Linked DNA regions of Homo sapiens: region 2 is linked to region 1. Evidence: promoter capture Hi-C in 16 types of primary human blood cells and fetal thymus (Javierre and others, 2016). All regions are on one chromosome and are shown on one strand. Each heading gives the region's core, a stretch centred on a gene start or on the middle of the fragment in contact. The rest is flanking DNA. Distances are from core to core; before and after follow the strand shown. Region 1 holds the start of UBTF (upstream binding transcription factor). Region 2 overlaps CCDC43 (coiled-coil domain containing 43).

Region 1 (2,700 bases), core at 75-2,574:
GACTTTCTAACCGCCCAGAGTAGAAGGGGGCAGGTCCACACTCTGAGAGACTCAGCCATGACCTTATTAGACTTAAGGGGTCTATGGGAATGGGAGTGCGCCCCTCCTCTTCCTCGTGACCCCCTCCCCCAGCCCCTGCAGCCCGGCTCCGCGGCGCGCGCCCTCCCCTGGCCACGCGAGGGCCTGCTCCTAGCTCCCGCGTGCAGCGAGCGCCCGCCCTCCGCCCCGCTTCCCAACCCCAGCCAAAAAAAAAAAAAAAGAAAAAATCTCCTCCTCCTCGGAGCGCCCGCCCCGGGGAGGCCCCAGGCTGGAGGGCGGGGGAAGAGGAAGGGCGGGTAAAGGGCGCGCGCGGCCACGGAAGCGGGCACGCGCCCCAGTCTCCTCCTCCCGCCTCCCCCCGGCCGGTTCCCCCCGCCTCCGCAACCCGGCGGGGACCCGGACGCAGCGCAGCCGCCGCCAGCCCCGGAGCGGAGCGGCCGCACCGCCCCCGGGGACCGGATCCGGATTCCCGCCGCTCCCCCCTCCCGGGCTCCCTTCGCCGTCCCCGCCCGCACAGGCGGGCAAGCAGCCGGAGAGAAGCGGCCTAGCCTGCCCCCCGCCCCCGAGCCACCCACCCCGGCCAGAGGCGCCGCCACCGCCCAGCCACCCCGACGCGCACGGAGGAGCCCGGCACAGAGGCGCGACCGCGGCGGGAACCGCCGCCTCCTCCCCCGAGCCTGCGGCCCAGCCCCGCCGGCGCCCCCGCCCCGGCCTCCGGGGAGCCGAGCCAAGGAGAGGGCGGGAGGACGGCGGCCGGGAGGCGGGGGCGCAGCGCTCACCGGCCCCGCCGCCCCCTCCGGCGGCCGGGGAGAACTGCGCCTGCCGGCTCCGAGAAGCGCGGGCTCCTCCGCCAGCGGCCGGGGCTCGGCTCAGGCCTCGCTTCCTGCCTTCCCCTCCCCCGGCTCTCGGCGTCCTCCCAAGTGCCCTGGTCTGCTCGCGCCCGGTCGCCTGCTCGGTGGTCGCTTCGGGTCCCCGCTGGGCGCCCACCGCACCCCGCGGTTCGCTCCCGCCGTCCGGCCCCGACCCCAGCGCGCGTCCTCAGCCGCCTCGGTTACCCGGCGCAGCGCGGCCTCCGGGCTTCCCGCTCCAGCGGCTCCCTCCCTGGCTCTGAGTGGCGGCGCCCTCCCCCGCTCGGCCGGGCACAGCCGCAGCTCCCTCCCGCGGCGGCAGCGGCTCCTCCTCCGGGCGAGGCGGCGGCGCTGGGGCGGCGGCTGCTGCTGCTGTGGCGGCGGCGGCGGCGGCGGCGGCTGTGGCTGCTGCCTGCTGCTCCTCGCGGCGAAAAGCACAAAGCACAGCGCCCTCCGCCTGCAGGCAGCCCGCCCGCCGCCGGCCCCGGCCTCAGCTCGCACACCCCCCGCCGCCGCCGCAGCCTCAGCCGCCGGAGCGGGGAGGAGGAGGGAGAAGGGAGGAGGAGGAGCGGGAGGGGGGGCGGGAGAAGCGGGGCAGCGAGCGCGTCCTTCCCCGTAGAGCGCACACCGACCCCCGGGGAGCGAGCGCCAGCCCGCCCGCCTCGCCGGCTCCGCTCCCTCCCACAGCCTGCCCGGGCGGGCTCCGCGGGGGGCAGCTGGGAGGAGGGGCGGGAGCTGGGGGGACCCGGGCGGCCGAGGCGGAGGGAAGGAAGGAGGGGAGGGGGGTGGTGGTGGTGGTGCTGGCGGCGGCGGCGGCTGCTGCTGCTGCTGCTGCCGCCGCCGGGGAAGGGGGGGGGGGCCGGGGCAGGGAGACACGCAGCCGCCCGGATGGCGGCGGGGCTCGGAGCCTAGGCGGGCGGGCGGGCGCCGAGAGCGACCTCGCCAGACCCGCGGGGGAACTAGCAGGCTTCGCCGGCGAGGGAGGGCCGAGGTGCGGCCGCGGAGAGGGTGCCCGGAGGTGCCCCCGGCGTCCGGGGAGGCTCGGGGGGCGCCCACAGCCCTGCTCCGGAGCTCTCCCCCAAGTTCTCCCAGCTCAGACTAGGGCTTCCAGGCCAGCTCTCTCCCGCCTCCCGGAGCGAGCGGTCCGCGCCCACCCTCATCCCCCGGAGCGTGGCCGCTGGTTTGGGGCGCACGCACGCCGATCGCGGCGTCCAGCTTCGGTGCCTACCTCGCGGTCCTCTCCTTGCCGAACGGCACATACGAAACTTAAAAAAAAACCCGAAAACTAAAACCTCTGCATTAAAAAAAAAAAATCCCCGTTGCTCTTTACACCCCGGAAACGGCAAGGGAACGACGGGCTCCGGCGGAGGGGCCGCTGTGGGAGCCGGTTCAATCCAGCCCGGCATGGTTCTCCAGGCCTGCCCGGGCGCATGAAGATCGGCGCCGCCGCCACTCGTAGCAACCCCTCTCCCCCGAAATCCGCGGCTCCCGGGCTCACTTACCGAGCGTGTGGATGGGAGCGCAGGCCGGGGGCACCTGGGAGCACGGCGGGCCGAACAGTCGAGCCGCAGCTCCGCTGCAGCCGACGCCGGGGCAGCGAGTCGCCAGACAAAGCCCGAGATGGCGAAGCGGAGCGACGGCTAATGGCGAGCCCCACGCGCCGCGCTCCGCCCGCCCCGCTCCGCCCGCCCGCCCGCCCGCCTCGGCGCAGCGCAGCGCCGCTCCGAGCGCTTGCCCGTCAGAGCCGCCTCGGCGCCGCCGCCTCCCGGGCCACCCCGGCCTCGCCTGGCCCCTCCGCCTCCTCCGGGCGGCT
Region 2 (2,700 bases), core at 96-2,595, 470 kb after region 1:
TATGCCACTGTTCTTGAATTTTACCTCAGATTATTGCTAACAAACTTCTAAATTCCTCATATTAAATCCTAGCCCAAGTCAGGCACAGAGGCTCACATCTGTAATCTCAGCACTTTGGGAGGCCAAGGCAGGAGGATGTCTTGAGCCCAGGAGCATAAGACCACCCTGAGCAACATGGCAAAACCCTGTCTCTACAAAAAAAAATTTTTTTTTTTTAATTAGCCAGGCATGGCTGGGTGTGGTGGCTCACGCCTATAGCCCCAGCACTTTGAGAGACTGAGATGGGTGGATCACTTGAGGTCAGGAGTTTGAGACCAGCCTGGTCAACATGGTGAAACCCCATCTCTACTAAAAATATAAAAATTAGCCAGGCATGGTGGCATATGCCTGTAATCCCAGCTACTCGGGAGGCTGAGAATCACCTGAACCCAGGAGGCAGAGGTTACAGTGAGCCGAGATTTTGCTACTGCACTCCAGCCTGGGTGACAGAGTGAGACTTTGTCTCAAAAAATAAAACATAAAACATAAAAAAAAAAGTTAGCCAGGCATGATATGTGATGGCAGGTGCCTGTAGTCCTAGCTACTTGGGAGGCTGATGAGAGGGGATTGCTTGAGTCCAGTCGTTCAAGGCTACAGTGAGTTATGATCACATTACTATAACAGAGCGAGACTCTCTTAAAAAAAAAAAAAGGCAAACTAATGTCTACCTTTATCAACAGAAACAGCTCCAAATAATGATGGACTGATCAAGAAGCTGGTACCAAGAAGTCTCAAAGTTATTTCAACAGCTTCATGGAGTGTTTAGAAACTTCCCAGCTGTAAATAAAAACTACCTTAAATTGCTTGCCTCCTACTCTTTCTCCCTATAATCTGTAATGTTGTGGTCCAAAAAAAGAATTGATTCCACTGTCTTGTATTTCCAGTGAACTTCCAAGCTTCCTCACAGGCTGTGTTAAAGTTTTCCCATTTATAAGCCAATCTTGCCAGAAGAGGCTCTGGAACTCAAATGGGTTACTGCCAGAAGAATCTGGGACAGCTGCACTAGTGTTATATTTCAACCATGTACCCAATCTATGAACTGCTTCCACCAAATGTGAGTGATTTTTTCCTAGCACTTGTTTCCGCTTTCACAAAACACTTTTGGATTTGAAAATGTTTCTGCCTTCTACCCTTTTAAAAAAATGAGATATGAATATGTACATTTATATCTATATATATTTATACTAATTTTTTTTTCTTTGAGACAGGGTCACTCTGTCACCCAAGCTGGAGTGCAGTGGCACAATCACGGCTCACTGCAGCCACAGCCTCCTAGGCTCAAGTGATCCTCCCACTTCAGACTTCTGAGTAGCTGGGACTACAGGTATGCGCCACCATACCTGGCTAATTTTTTAAATTTTTTTGTAGAGACAGGGTCTTGCTATGTTGCCCAGTGTGGTGTGGAACTCTTGGCCTCAAGCAATCCTCCCACCTCAGCCTCCCAAAGTGGTGAGATTACAAACATGAGCCACTGTGCCCCACCTCATGGTACATTTTGATTCTATTACTAGCCTTTCAAAATTGGTTTTGAGAATAACAAAGAACCCATTTTTCTAACCTGTCCATTGTAATAAATGCCAGAGGATAAAGCCTTTGATGGACAGACAGGTGGCTCTCACAGTAGCAATCAGGTATCCAGGATCTCCTCTAATCCATGAATGCAGAGACAACTCTAGCTTCTACAGCATTTAGTGATGATTCAAGTAAATTTTATTTTTAAGCTTGTATTTAAAAGGAAACAATTTGTTAGACAGCCACAGGTAGCACCTACAACCAATTTAATCTGTAATAACCAGTCTAATAAGTGTGTATGTTGGAGGTGTGGGAAGTGAAGATGAAGGCAGCAGAAATGATCAGGTTGAAAAAGTGGACATCTGGGTGACTTACTATGTAAACATAGCTTAAAGTACACATTTCTGAATACCTTGCTTCTAACAGGCTAAGGACTAAGTTTCTCTCTCTTCGTTAAAGCTCTGATCTCTCTCATACCCTCCTTCCCACCACCAATGATTACTGTAAATACTGTAATGGATCAAGCACGACGTTTGCTTCAGTTCTGCGTGGGCATGAAAAGACTTCTACCACCAGCTTACCTTTTATGGACTCCTACATCCATATAAGAATCAAAAGGGCACTTCCTGCAGGCTTCTGTCATGGGACAGCCCTGGGAACTGCCTTGTAATAGGCACAGACCTCCCAAGAGCATTTTAATACCCCCAGTGAACACTGTAAACGGATGGAAATGGAATTGGTCGTCAGATATTTATGATAACATTCCCATTCTGACATTTCAATGCCTTCGGAAGAACCCTCCTCGGCTCACTCACAAGCATCGGAGAGGGCCTTGTCCCCAAGAATACGAGAAAGCCCTTCCTCTCTGTGTACCTGCAGCTTTCAGGCTTCCCACACCTGGTTGGGGAGCAACCTCCTTCCCCCGCCGCCCAGATATCAGAGGAGTATACCTCTCCCAGGTGAGACCACTGAGCCTCTGGGATACCCGGTAGGGGAGGGAGGGTGCAAAGTACTGACAGGTCCTCAGATGCTGGCCAGAGGCTGAAGGAATGTGTCCAGGCTACTCACCAGGAAAGCAGAGAGGATCCCCTGCAGAGCGTCCAGCTTCTCTTCTTCCTCCTCCTCCTGCAGGATACCCAAGATGTAGGC

Evidence for each region. The method cuts DNA at HindIII sites, captures the fragments that hold promoters and counts their contacts. A CHiCAGO score of 5 or more calls a contact.
Region 2: a fragment that was not itself captured here is called in contact with the fragment with the promoter of UBTF in region 1 in 1 of 17 cell types (M2 macrophages); the score reaches 5.2 in M2 macrophages.

The regions. Positions count from the first base shown.
Region 1 is chr17:44,218,351-44,221,050 of GRCh38, forward strand. It overlaps UBTF (upstream binding transcription factor), which reads right to left and starts at 1,325. Exons shown (of 21, transcript NM_014233.4): 1 at 1,095-1,325. All of the region lies in intron 1 of ATXN7L3-AS1 (ATXN7L3 antisense RNA 1), which reads left to right. RefSeq lists silencers at 52-221, 272-1,291, 1,051-1,215, 1,342-2,031, 2,542-2,700. The HindIII fragment of the contact is 14,974 bases long and covers 1-2,700 here.
Region 2 is chr17:44,686,931-44,689,630 of GRCh38, forward strand. CCDC43 (coiled-coil domain containing 43) reads right to left here. Exons shown (of 5, transcript NM_144609.3): 1 at 2,620-2,700. It overlaps LOC105371792 (a long non-coding RNA gene), which reads left to right. Exons shown (of 4, transcript XR_007065769.1): 2 at 924-1,093; 3 at 1,248-1,363; 4 at 2,011-2,083. Among named protein-coding and RNA genes, the nearest start is that of CCDC43, 1.5 kb to the right of the region's middle. RefSeq lists an enhancer at 2,579-2,700. The HindIII fragment of the contact is 825 bases long and covers 934-1,758 here.